Regions from separate parts of the Homo sapiens genome. Here region 2 is linked to region 1. The links are contacts of gene promoters, found by promoter capture Hi-C in human tissues and cell types (Jung and others, 2019). All regions are on one chromosome and are shown on one strand. Each heading gives the region's core, a stretch centred on a gene start or on the middle of the fragment in contact. The rest is flanking DNA. Distances are from core to core; before and after follow the strand shown.

Region 1 (4,912 bases), core at 649-3,148:
CCCCCTCTCCGCAGTCCCGCGGGTGGAGGGGATTCAGGTGCGCCCGGCCCTGGGGGTGGAGCGCTCGGCCCGGCGTCAGCTCATCGGCGCGGCGCAGCCCCGGACCTCAGCCGCAGGCCCAGAGGCGCGCGGTTCCCGGCCGGTCAATCAGGGAGGGCCTCCGGGAGGAGGTGGCGCTGCCCGCAGCCCGCCCGGCTCACCTGCGCCCTCCTCACCTGCGCCCTCCTCACCTGCGGGGCCATGCGGTCCCTTACCAGCAGCCGCCCGCCCCGGGGCGAGGAACCTCAGCCCCCAACATCGCCACCCCTCCAGCCTCGCCGGTCCTAGCCGGCGTCCCTGGGCGTGTCCCGGGAAGCGCACGTCCACGCTGGCGCTGGACCGGGTTTTCTGACTCCAGGGACGGGACTCGTCCTAAAGAGTCCGGCTCAGATGCGGTTACGCGCCTCACCTCACCCGGGTGCGGACCGCCAGTGCCTCCGCCCTGCACTCCGCGGGCCCTGCCCAGCTCTTCCCGCCGGAGGGCAGGTGGCCCCCGCCCCGCCCCTGCCAGGCGCGCGATTTTAAATCCCCCCAACCCCCGTCTCTCAGCGTGGCCTGGGAGGGGGAAGCCGCCCGGCTTCAGGGCTTCCTGCGCCTTCGCCGCCGCCCTCCCTGCCCTTCCCCGCCGCCGTCCCCCCTATCCCCCCAGCCCGTCTCTTCCGCCTTCTTATTTTGTGCCTGGGCTCTCTGCTCCGCAAAAATGTTGACTTCCCACGGGCAGAGGTTTCAGAATTTTTTTAAAGCTTTTGTCCACGGCGTTCTCTACATCTTGGTTGAAGGAATGGCAGCCTGCGGGGTGCCGTCTGGGGCCCCCGTCTCCCTGCGCTTCTCGCCTCCTCCATGCGCAGGAGGCGGTGGGGATCCGAGCCTCAGCCCAGAGGCGGGGGCTCCGGGAGGAGGGTGCCCCGCTGCCCTGTCTAGCAGCCTCACCCAGGCCCTTCCGGAGGTGCCTCTGCAGAAAGGGAGTCACGTCCCCCCTGGGCCTCACCTGGCTTGCAGGGATCAGGGAGGGAGGGCGGGGTGGGCTGGGTGCGGTGGGGAAGGAGCAGGGACTCTGGGTCCCACCCTCGGTTGCGTGGTGCAGCCTTTCCCAAACCAGCTGCCCCAGACTCCAGGCCAGACGCCACTGCCAAGGCTGACGAGCCCAGAGCCGCAAGCCTGCCTCGGTTTCTCGGCGGGGGATCCTCAGAGCCAGTGTTAAGCAAAGAGGCTGCGCCAGCGCCCTTCACACCCCTAGAAGGCTAGGGGAGCAAGGCTAGGTGGGGGCGGGCTGGGGCTGGCCCAGAGGGTAGAGCCCGCCCACTTTCCCTCCCTCCTTCCATTCATGCATGCGTTCATTCAGTCATTCATTCCTCAGCAGTCGCTGAGCTCACTCGCCTTAAGTCCTGGAGATCATCGGAGCGCAGCCGGCCAGGGGCCTGGCGCTCTCCCAGCCTTGGGGCCTGGGTCCCCGGACTCCTGCTCGGGGAGGGCCGCAGGACCGGCGCATTGTGCGCGGCGCGGGGAACGGCCCTTGCCTCCCACGGTGCCCTCCCTCGCTGCGCCGGCACCCGCAGCACCCCTGGCCACCTTCCTGCCGGGTACCCCCCACCCCTGCGCTTCCCAGGGCACCTACGGCGCCCAGGTCCGCGTCCAGGCGGACAGGCCGACCTGCCTCTGTCCCGCCTCCGGCCGACGGGCACACGCCTGGGCAGAGCCGAACTTTCCGGAGCCGCCGCGCAGCGCCCCGCCTCCTGTCCCGGGGCGGTCTCGGTCGCCAGAGGAGCCAGGCCGGGGGCGGGGCGGGGACGGGGCGGGGACACGGCTGCCTCCAGCACACCGCGCGCTGGGCGCTCAGAGCCTCGGGCGCGGCGGGAGCGCAGTTAGAGCCGATCTCCCGCGCCCCGAGGTTGCTCCTCTCCGAGGTCTCCCGCGGCCCAAGTTCTCCGCGCCCCGAGGTCTCCGCGCCCCGAGGTCTCCGCGGCCCGAGGTCTCCGCCCGCACCATGCGGCTGGGCAGGTGAGCCGGGGAAGGAGCGGAGGCGCCGCGGTCAGGGGCGGGGTGGCTCGGCCCGCGCGTCCCCAGCTCGGCTCGGACGCGGGGCCTGCGGGGCTCGCCTGGAGGTGCCGGGCTGGCAGTGCGGGTCCGAGGAGCGGGCGGCGGAGGCGCCGGGGCGGCCGGCGGGGCGTGGACGGCAGTGGGCGGCGGGGCCTGGCACCGGGACCCATGGCAGGACGCACAGCCGTGCGGGGGCGGGCTCGGGGGCGGGGTCCCTGCCAGGGAAGGAGGACCGCGAACGCTGGAAGGAGGGAGGGAAGGCGGGCGCACCCTGCACGCCGGGGCACGGGCGCTGCCCCTTCCACTCCCTGGCACTGCTGATTTCCTAGAAGAAGGGAGAAGGAGGGAGGTGACCGGCCGAGCGCTCTCCAAGGCCAGCTGGTGCCCACGGTCTGCGGACACGCCCTCCCCCACACACGTGGGATTCCCCGCAGCCCGGCAGCCGATCCACACTGGGGAAGGCGGGGCTGCCTGAACCAGGAGTGACAGCTTCCTCCTGGATTTTTGCGAAAATATCCAAAATATACTCTTCGCAACCCACGTTGTAGGGTCCGCAGCCTGTGCTCCCCTGGGTGAACCTGTGAGGCCCCTGACCCCAGGGATGCCTCCCGCACAGCTCAGAGCTGGGCCACACCGGAGTCACACTCCCCAGGTCCCCTCCCCATTAGAAGTGTATGCAGTTATGATCCTGCCCTAGAGAGAAAGAATTTAAAGGTCCCGGAATGTCATAGCCCTCCCAAATGTCTTAGCCCTCCGCCACCCACACCTTCAGGTAGGCGGCCCTGTCCATGCTGGGTCTTGAGGCAAGCTCGGGGTGGGGGTAGGTTAGATGCAGGGGTGCTGAGGGTCCAAGGAAAGGACACAGAGGCCGCTGCTTAGGCAGCACCCAGGGAGGGGACAAGCCAGAAACAGCCTGGAGCAGGCACCCCCCACCCTGGCCCAGGAAGCCCCCAGATGTCCTGAGGAGGCCTCCATAGACAGGAGGGGCCTTGTGGGCTGGTGATGAATATGGGCACTGTGGGAGACAAATGGGGGCACAGAGGAGTTCTCACAGCTGTCGTTTAGATGGTGGCTCTGGGGAAATGCTTGAAGGGGCTAAGGGTGGAGGCAGGGGGCCTGCTGGAGGCCATCACAGCCATCTTGCCAGCCAGAATGGTGGCCCCAACAGGGGGAGTGGGAGAGAGAGGAAGGGCCGCCTGCAGACTTCAAGAGCCCCTGGTGGCCAGGGGCCGCCTTGGTGCATGTGTGCTCACTTGGCACAGACACACCTCCATGCAGACTCAGATGACAGCCATCGTGGGTGGGGCAGGGGTTTCTGTGGCTCCAGGGCTCAGGGACAGCCCACTGGGAGGTTCCCACAAGACCAACCTTTGACTTACAAAGCCCCCAAGCTTTCCCAGGCAGAGGCCACAGAGAAGAGGGATGAGCGTCTCCCAGACCTTGGAGGTGCAGGGACATCAGAGAAGGAGATGTCCCTGCTCCTGGGGCTCTTGCTTCATGGGGAGCTGGCCCCAGAAACTGATGGTTTGGGGGGCTGGGGTAAGCACTGCTACCAAAGTGGTCCCGGCCACTAAGGGCCCCCACGTGGGGAAGGCATCCTGGGGGCTGGCGGGAGGAGGTGGCGAGCCTGTGGCGTGCAGGGTGCAAAGGCTCCCAGACCCAAGATGGCAGGGGCATTGGAGTCACGAGGGGAATTTGCTGCCCGAGGCAGGGGCACCAGCTGCAGCAGGATCTGAAACAGGAGGAGCTCAGGTTTGGTTTCAAAATGATCCGCGTTCCGCACAGGGCTGTCCCGTCACTCACCTGACCCTGTCACGGGCACGCCTGATGTTCTCCGTCTCCCCAGCATTTTAAGTGACACTCCTACTATATGTGCCCTGAAAGCTTTTTTTTTTTTTTTTTTTTCTGATTTCCTACAACTTCTTGGCATCTGTCCCCAGGAAGGCTAGACCAGCCTCACTGGCGTCCCTCGCTCCCCTTCATCCTCACGCCAGCATCACTGTGTTTCTGGGGATTTGTTACCGCGAGAGCTAGAGAGTGGTGAGAGGCTGCCAGCCCCTCGGACTTGCTGTGCTGGGCAGGAGGGTGGTGGTCCTGGCCCCGGACCCCGAATTCCCATGGAGAACAGAGGCAGGCAGGCTCCTGGCTCTGCCTTCACATTTCTGTGATGGGCTTAACTACCTCCTGCTCATGGGAACCAGCCTGTTCCTGTTTGGAAGATACAGGTAACTCCCTGGTGGCCCCGCCTCACCTGCCTTTCTGGTTGTTTTTTCCAGTCCTGGACTGCTCTTCCTGCTCTTCAGCAGCCTTCGAGCTGGTAAGTTCAGGGGGTGCTTTGCCATGGGGCGCCCAGCTCAGAGATGGGCTCTCCGGCTGTGTGGACTGCTGGCCGCAGGGCACTGGGAGCAGCCTCACCAGGCTCCTTCTTGCTTCTCAAGTGGTCCTTTGGAGACAGTTGGACCCTAAACCTAGGTTGCTGCACAGGATAGAAGCGTTTCCTTAAAGGGAAACACTTCTGCAAACTCCGGAGTTCTTGTTTGACTCCGTCTTTGTTGCGGGCAGAATGCAGTTCCTCTGAGCCAGGGCTTCCTGGGTCCCCTGGTCTCCCTGTCCCAGGCAGCAGCCCTGCTGAGCCCTAAGAGCCACCAGCCTCTGGAAGAGCCAGGAATAAGGACGAAGCACCGCAGCACAAACCTGAAACCTTGCCAAGCCTTCCAGCCCAGAGGGCTTTGGGGGCAGGGGACACACACAGATTTTCCTGCAGGTGCCAGGTGCAGTGGCTCACTCCTGTAATCCCAGGACTTTGGGAGGCCAAGGCGGGTGGATCACCTGAGGT
Region 2 (5,437 bases), core at 725-3,224, 53 kb after region 1:
CCAGAATATGATTTTTTTTAATTGGCAGAGACAAGGTCTCATTTTGTCACCCAGGCTGGAGTGCAATGGCACAATCTCGGCTCACTGCAACCTCCGCCTCCCAGGTTCAAGTGGTTCTTCTGCCTCAGCCTCCCGAGTAGCTGGGATTACAGGCACCTGCCAACATGCCTGGCTAATTTTTGTATTTTTAGTAGAGATGGGGTTTTACCATGTTGGCCAGGCTGGTCTTGAACTCCTGACCTTAGATGATCCACCTGCCTTGGCCTTCCAAAGTGCTGGGATTACAGGCGTGAGCCACCGTGCCTGGCCAAAATGTTAAATTCTTTACAGATATGTCAAAGTCAGCAATAAACCATACTATATAGAAACAAACAAAAATTTACTAGAAATAATTCAGTGAGCCAACTCTTTGTATCAGTCATTATTTATTATTATTATTATTATTATTATTACTATTTTGAGACAGGGTCTCATTCCCATTGCCCAGACTGGAGTGCAGTGGTGTGATCACTACTCACTACAGCCTCAACTTCTTGGGCTCAAGTGATTCTCTCACCTCAGCTTCCCAACTAGCTGAGACTACAGGCACCCGGCTACTTTTTGTATTTTCAGTAGAGACGGGGTTTCACCACGTTGCCCAGGCTGGTCTCAAGTGACCCACTGCCTCAGCTTCCCAAAGTGCATAGTCATTTTTAAAGTACAGTTTAGGGATAATGTATTATTTCTATTAGAGTTATAACTTTAAGCTGGGAGATGTTCAGTAACTAAGTTTGTGAAGCTATTAGAATGTTTAAGTGCATTTGGTTTGCTATGAGCTTGATTTATTAAAAGGATAAGAGTAATTTAAGTGTTTGACAAGTCTGGCTGTCTGTTTTGCAAATGTTTCCTGTCAGGTATTTGAAATGCTTAAAAAGAAAAATGAAGACATTAAATTATAATCAAACGTTAAAAACATAAAGGGAATTTAACTTTAATAAAAAGCCTATCAACAATGATACATCTACAAAGAGGCAGACATTCCAAGTTGGGAAGATGGGGAGGTTACTTACCCGTGCTGCTCCCGAACCAATTAACTAGCAGAACTTGTTTTCAAACAATAAGATACAACCTGGTACAGAATGTTCCAACGCGGTGGGGGAGGGATCACGTTTGCCGATGAGGACTGCAATGTTGGGACTAAAACCGTGTGTGAAACCTGAACGGCTCCAAAATCATCTGTTCCCTTCTCATCTCTCCCAGAAGTGTCCGTGACAGTCGCTGTCATGGAAGTCACCTCCCCAGCACCACAAGGGAGAGCCATCCTTCCTGCAGGGCGGCCACGTGGCCACCTAGGCTGGTCCCGGGAGACCTTGGACCCAGGCTGGTGCCTGCCCCAGCTCCTGTCCCGAGACGTGGCTGAAGGTGAGCATCTCACCCAGGCTGGGCAGCAGTGTCCACCCTGGGACTTTTGGGACTGATGAAGACAGTCAAGTCCATCCCCATGAAAACAGAGAGGGCTGCTTTTCCAGCAGAATAGAAATCACCAAACTCAATCCTAGAAGAACTGGAATATTCGAATAGTCCGCCTTCCACAGGAGAAATTAGAAAGGTGATGGATATTTATCTTTAAGGAAAGTGCAGACCAGTTGAATTTTATTTAACCTTTAAAAAGATAATTCTAACTTTTCTAGGCCACAGAAAAAGATGGGAAACCTCCTATTTATGAAGGCATAGCTTTTGTCAAGGGAGCATATAGGGCCAGGTGCGGTGGCTCAAGCCTGTAATCCCAGCACTTTGGGAGGCCGAGGCGGGTGGATCAGCTGAGGTCAGGAGTTTGAGACCAGCCTGACCAACATGGAGAAACCCTGTCACTACTAAAAATACAAAATTAGCCAGGTGTGGTGGCATGTGCCTGTAATCCCAGCTACTCAGGAGGCTGAGGCAGGAGAATTACTTGAACCTGGGAGGCAGAGGTTGCGGTTAGCCAAGATTGCACCACTTCACTCCAGACTGGGCAAAAGGAGCGAAACTCCATTTCAAAACAAAAAAAGGTGGTGGGGGGGAGCATATAAAATGATAAAGCTATGTTGCTTGTACCTATAGATGCAAACAGTTTGGATAAAATATTAGCAAAAATATACTACCAATGTGTCAAAATCATCACACACCACCCCCAAGCAGGTGGTTTATTTTAGAAATGCAAAGATGGTTCAGGAACAGGACATCTATCAGCATGAAAAAGAAATTAGTGGACAAGGAGCAGTGGCTCGCACCTGTAATCCCAGCACTTTGGGAGGCCGAGGCGGGTGGATCACCTGAGGTCAGGAGTTTGAGACCAGCCTGGCCAACATAGTGAAACCCCGTCTCTACTAAAAATACAAAAATTAGCCAGGTGTGTTGACGGGTGCCTGTAATCCCAGGTACTTGGGAGGCTGAGGCAGGAGAATCACTTGAACCCGGGAGGCAGAGGTTGCAGTGAGCCGAGATCACGCCACTTCACTCCAGCCTGGGTGACAGAGTGAGACTCTGTCTCAAAAAAAAAAAAAAAAGAAAGAAATTAGTGAAAGAAGAAAGATGCAGATAACTCAGGCTTAGCAATCCTTACGCAGCTGCTCCTGGGTGGCCTGAGGGCAACTGGAAAGGGAGCTGGGCCCAGCCAGCTGCAGAATGACCAGGAGCTCAGCCCGACACAGCCTCACCAAGGTGGGCCTGGCATGCAGCAGGGGCTGCACGAAGGCCTGGGGAGGGGAGGGTCTGTCCGGCCTCCGAAGGGACCCTGAGAGTCCTGGGCAATAGAAAGTTCTGGGCATTGAGTTGTTAGAGGGACCAAAAGGTGGGGAAAGAGCGTGTCTGTGGTTGGGATGTGTGGGCTGCAGGCCACAGCCAGCAAACTCCTCCGTGCAGATGCTGACAGGGAGCGTGTCAGCAGGGTGATCTGTGATCCCAAACCAGGCCTGGAGCAGTGGCCCCCGGGTGGCCCGCCAGCCTCGGACTCTGGCCTCATCCCTCCTCCCTGCTCCTCTCAGGGGCTGGACACTGCCTCCTTCCCCTCTGGCCCCCTCTGATCCAGCCTCCAGGGGTGGGGACCTCAGCCAGCTGATGTCCAGGTGTCCTGGGAAAGTGGCCCTAGCCACAGATTCACACTCCTGAGGCAGGCTTCGGATGGGCCCACCTGGGACCCATGCTCACCTCTGTCAGAGGTCAGGGCCCGGTGTCCCGTGGACAGGAGGGCAGATGCAGAGAATACCCTCCCCACCCCTCATCCTTTCTCGGCCTCTCAGCATAGGCCGGCAGATGTCATGCCAGGCACGGTGGGTGAGGACCACATCAGCCAAGGCTATGCTCTGGTAGGGCCTAAACGCTGCGGGATGCTTTACGCCTGCTTGGTGTTCACGATCGTCGTGAAACAAAGCCAAGGAGCTCATGCCTGTGGGGACCCTCCCCTAGGGTCACGGGTCTACCCCGATCTTAGTCCTCGCGCCAGCCTGTGGAGGGAGTGCTCTGATTTCAGATGGGAAATCGAGGCAGGGAACGGCTGTGCAGCTCACCCAGGGCCAGGCTCGGGCCAGTGCTCCTGTCCGGGGAGAGGCACCATCCTGGGTCTGGCTTGTCATGCTGCATTCATCACGCGTGTCTGCAGCCGCATTTGTCGTGCATGTCTGTGTGGATATGGCTCCTCCAGGTCCAAGGAGCAGGAGCAGAGCAGGCCCCGGGGGGCAGGAAGCTCCGTCCCCACTGCCCCACGCACAGTGCAGAGGACCCGTAGGTGGCCACAGAGGTCTCCGCTAGTTGAGGCCGGCATGGCTTGTCCTCCTGCAAAGGTCCAGCCCCGAGGGTGGGCGCTCGGGGCCATAGGCAGCGAGGGCAGTTCTGGTGGATCCTGGGGCTTGGCATCTCGGGGCAGGCAGGGGCTTGCAGAAGAGAAGCCAAGGTCACTGCTGGGGAAGCAGCCGGCACCAGGGGCCACTGCCTGACGCACCATTGCAAGCAGGGTGTGGGGCTGTCCACCACCCCCAAAAGACCGCCAGCATGCCCCCTGCCTCCAGCACCACCCTCCCCATCCACAGCCTCTGTGCTGGTCCCGGCCGCTGGCCAGGCTGGCATTGGCCCCTGGAGCTGGTGGGAGAGGGTCCTGTGTCTCAGGCTGCCCTCCGCTGTCTTCAGGGCTCAGAGACTGGGATGAGTGGCCTTTGTACCAGGTGCTGGGGGCTGACAGCAATGAGGGCCAGGCTCCAGCATCACCAGGACTCGCCTCTTTGGGTAAAACACTTTCTCCAAAGGGCCCCGTGGCAGATGCAGCAGGTGGAGCAGAAGCCCCCACACCTGGGGTCTGGCAGGGAGGGGCCTCACTGGGGTTTCCCAGACACTGGTGCGGACGGGGCTGCTTCAGTGGGAGGTGAGTGACCAGGAGGAGGAGGGGCGCTGGGACCCGCAGCCCCTACCATGAAGGCTGAGCGACAAGGGGAGGCAGGGCCCCAGCAGGGCACCCGGAGGGCACGGGGGACACAGAGACCACAGAAAGCTGAGGGACAGTTCCTGGCCAGGGCGTCCTCTCCCCAGGTAGGAAGAGCCTTCCCTGACCTGGACAGTGGCAGCCCCTGGAGGGGGCAGCTGTGGGCAGGGGCTGGAAGCCTGGGCAGGGGCCAGGATGAAGTGGGGCCAAGGCCAAGGCCAGCACCGGAGGAGCCCGTTCCCAAAGGGCAGGGCCTGGCCCAGCCCCGTGGCTTCGCTGTGATGGAGTAAAAGACACAAAGTCCCCCATGGGGTTTCCCGGGGCTGCTTCCACCCCAGTACCCCCAGGCAGCTGCAAAACTAACTTGGCAAACACCATCTGCCGAAAGAGTAAGTAGGAGTTCAACCACAGCGGAGTGAAAAGGAGGAGAGGCTGGAAAAACCCACTCTCCCTGTTCAACAGGGAAAGTCCCAGCTGAATCACACTGATTATTCATGAGGAAGAAAAGGAAAACTGGCAGAGCTATAAAAATATTCTGTTTTATCAAATCAGGAAAACACAGTACTCAACCTGCGGATTAAAAACACTTTCTGAAGGAAGAAAGAATACATTTAGGCGCTAGTTTCACTGGAAAAATTCAGGAAATCATTAAGTGTAGGCACTGGGTGCTGAGATGTCAGATGAAATAGATGGGAATGGAACAGGAGCTGGTGAGATGTCAGATGAAATAGATGGGAATGGAACAGGAGCTGGTGAGATGTCAGATGAAATAGATGGGAATGGAACAGGAGCTGGTGAGACGTCAGATGAAATAGACGGGGATGGAACAGGAGCTGGTGAGATGGCAGATGAAATAGACAGGAATAGAACAGGAGCTGGTGAGACATCAGATGAAATAGATGGGGATGGAACAGGAGCTGGTGAGACATCAGATGAAATAGACGGGAATGGAACAGGAGCTGGTGACACATCAGATGAAATAGATGAAATAGACAGGAATAGAAC

Evidence for each region. Contacts are between HindIII fragments. The study calls those that stand out against the background at their distance.
Region 2: a fragment that was not itself captured here is called in contact with the fragment with the promoter of ICOSLG in region 1 in 2 of the 25 tissues and cell types used here (dorsolateral prefrontal cortex and spleen).

The regions. Positions count from the first base shown.
Region 1 is chr21:44,237,929-44,242,840 of GRCh38, reverse strand. ICOSLG (inducible T cell costimulator ligand) reads left to right here and starts at 1,898. Exons shown (of 7, transcript NM_015259.6): 1 at 1,898-2,037; 2 at 4,353-4,393. The coding sequence starts at 2,024. RefSeq lists enhancers at 1-138, 2,643-3,421 and cis regulatory regions at 1,172-2,087, 1,163-2,087, 1,088-2,087. The HindIII fragment of the contact is 7,916 bases long and covers 1-3,714 here.
Region 2 is chr21:44,184,422-44,189,858 of GRCh38, reverse strand. It overlaps LOC105377139 (a long non-coding RNA gene), which reads left to right. Exons shown (of 4, transcript XR_001755082.3): 2 at 1,240-1,401. Among named protein-coding and RNA genes, the nearest start is that of LINC01678, 27 kb to the right of the region's middle. The HindIII fragment of the contact is 7,407 bases long and covers 1-5,437 here.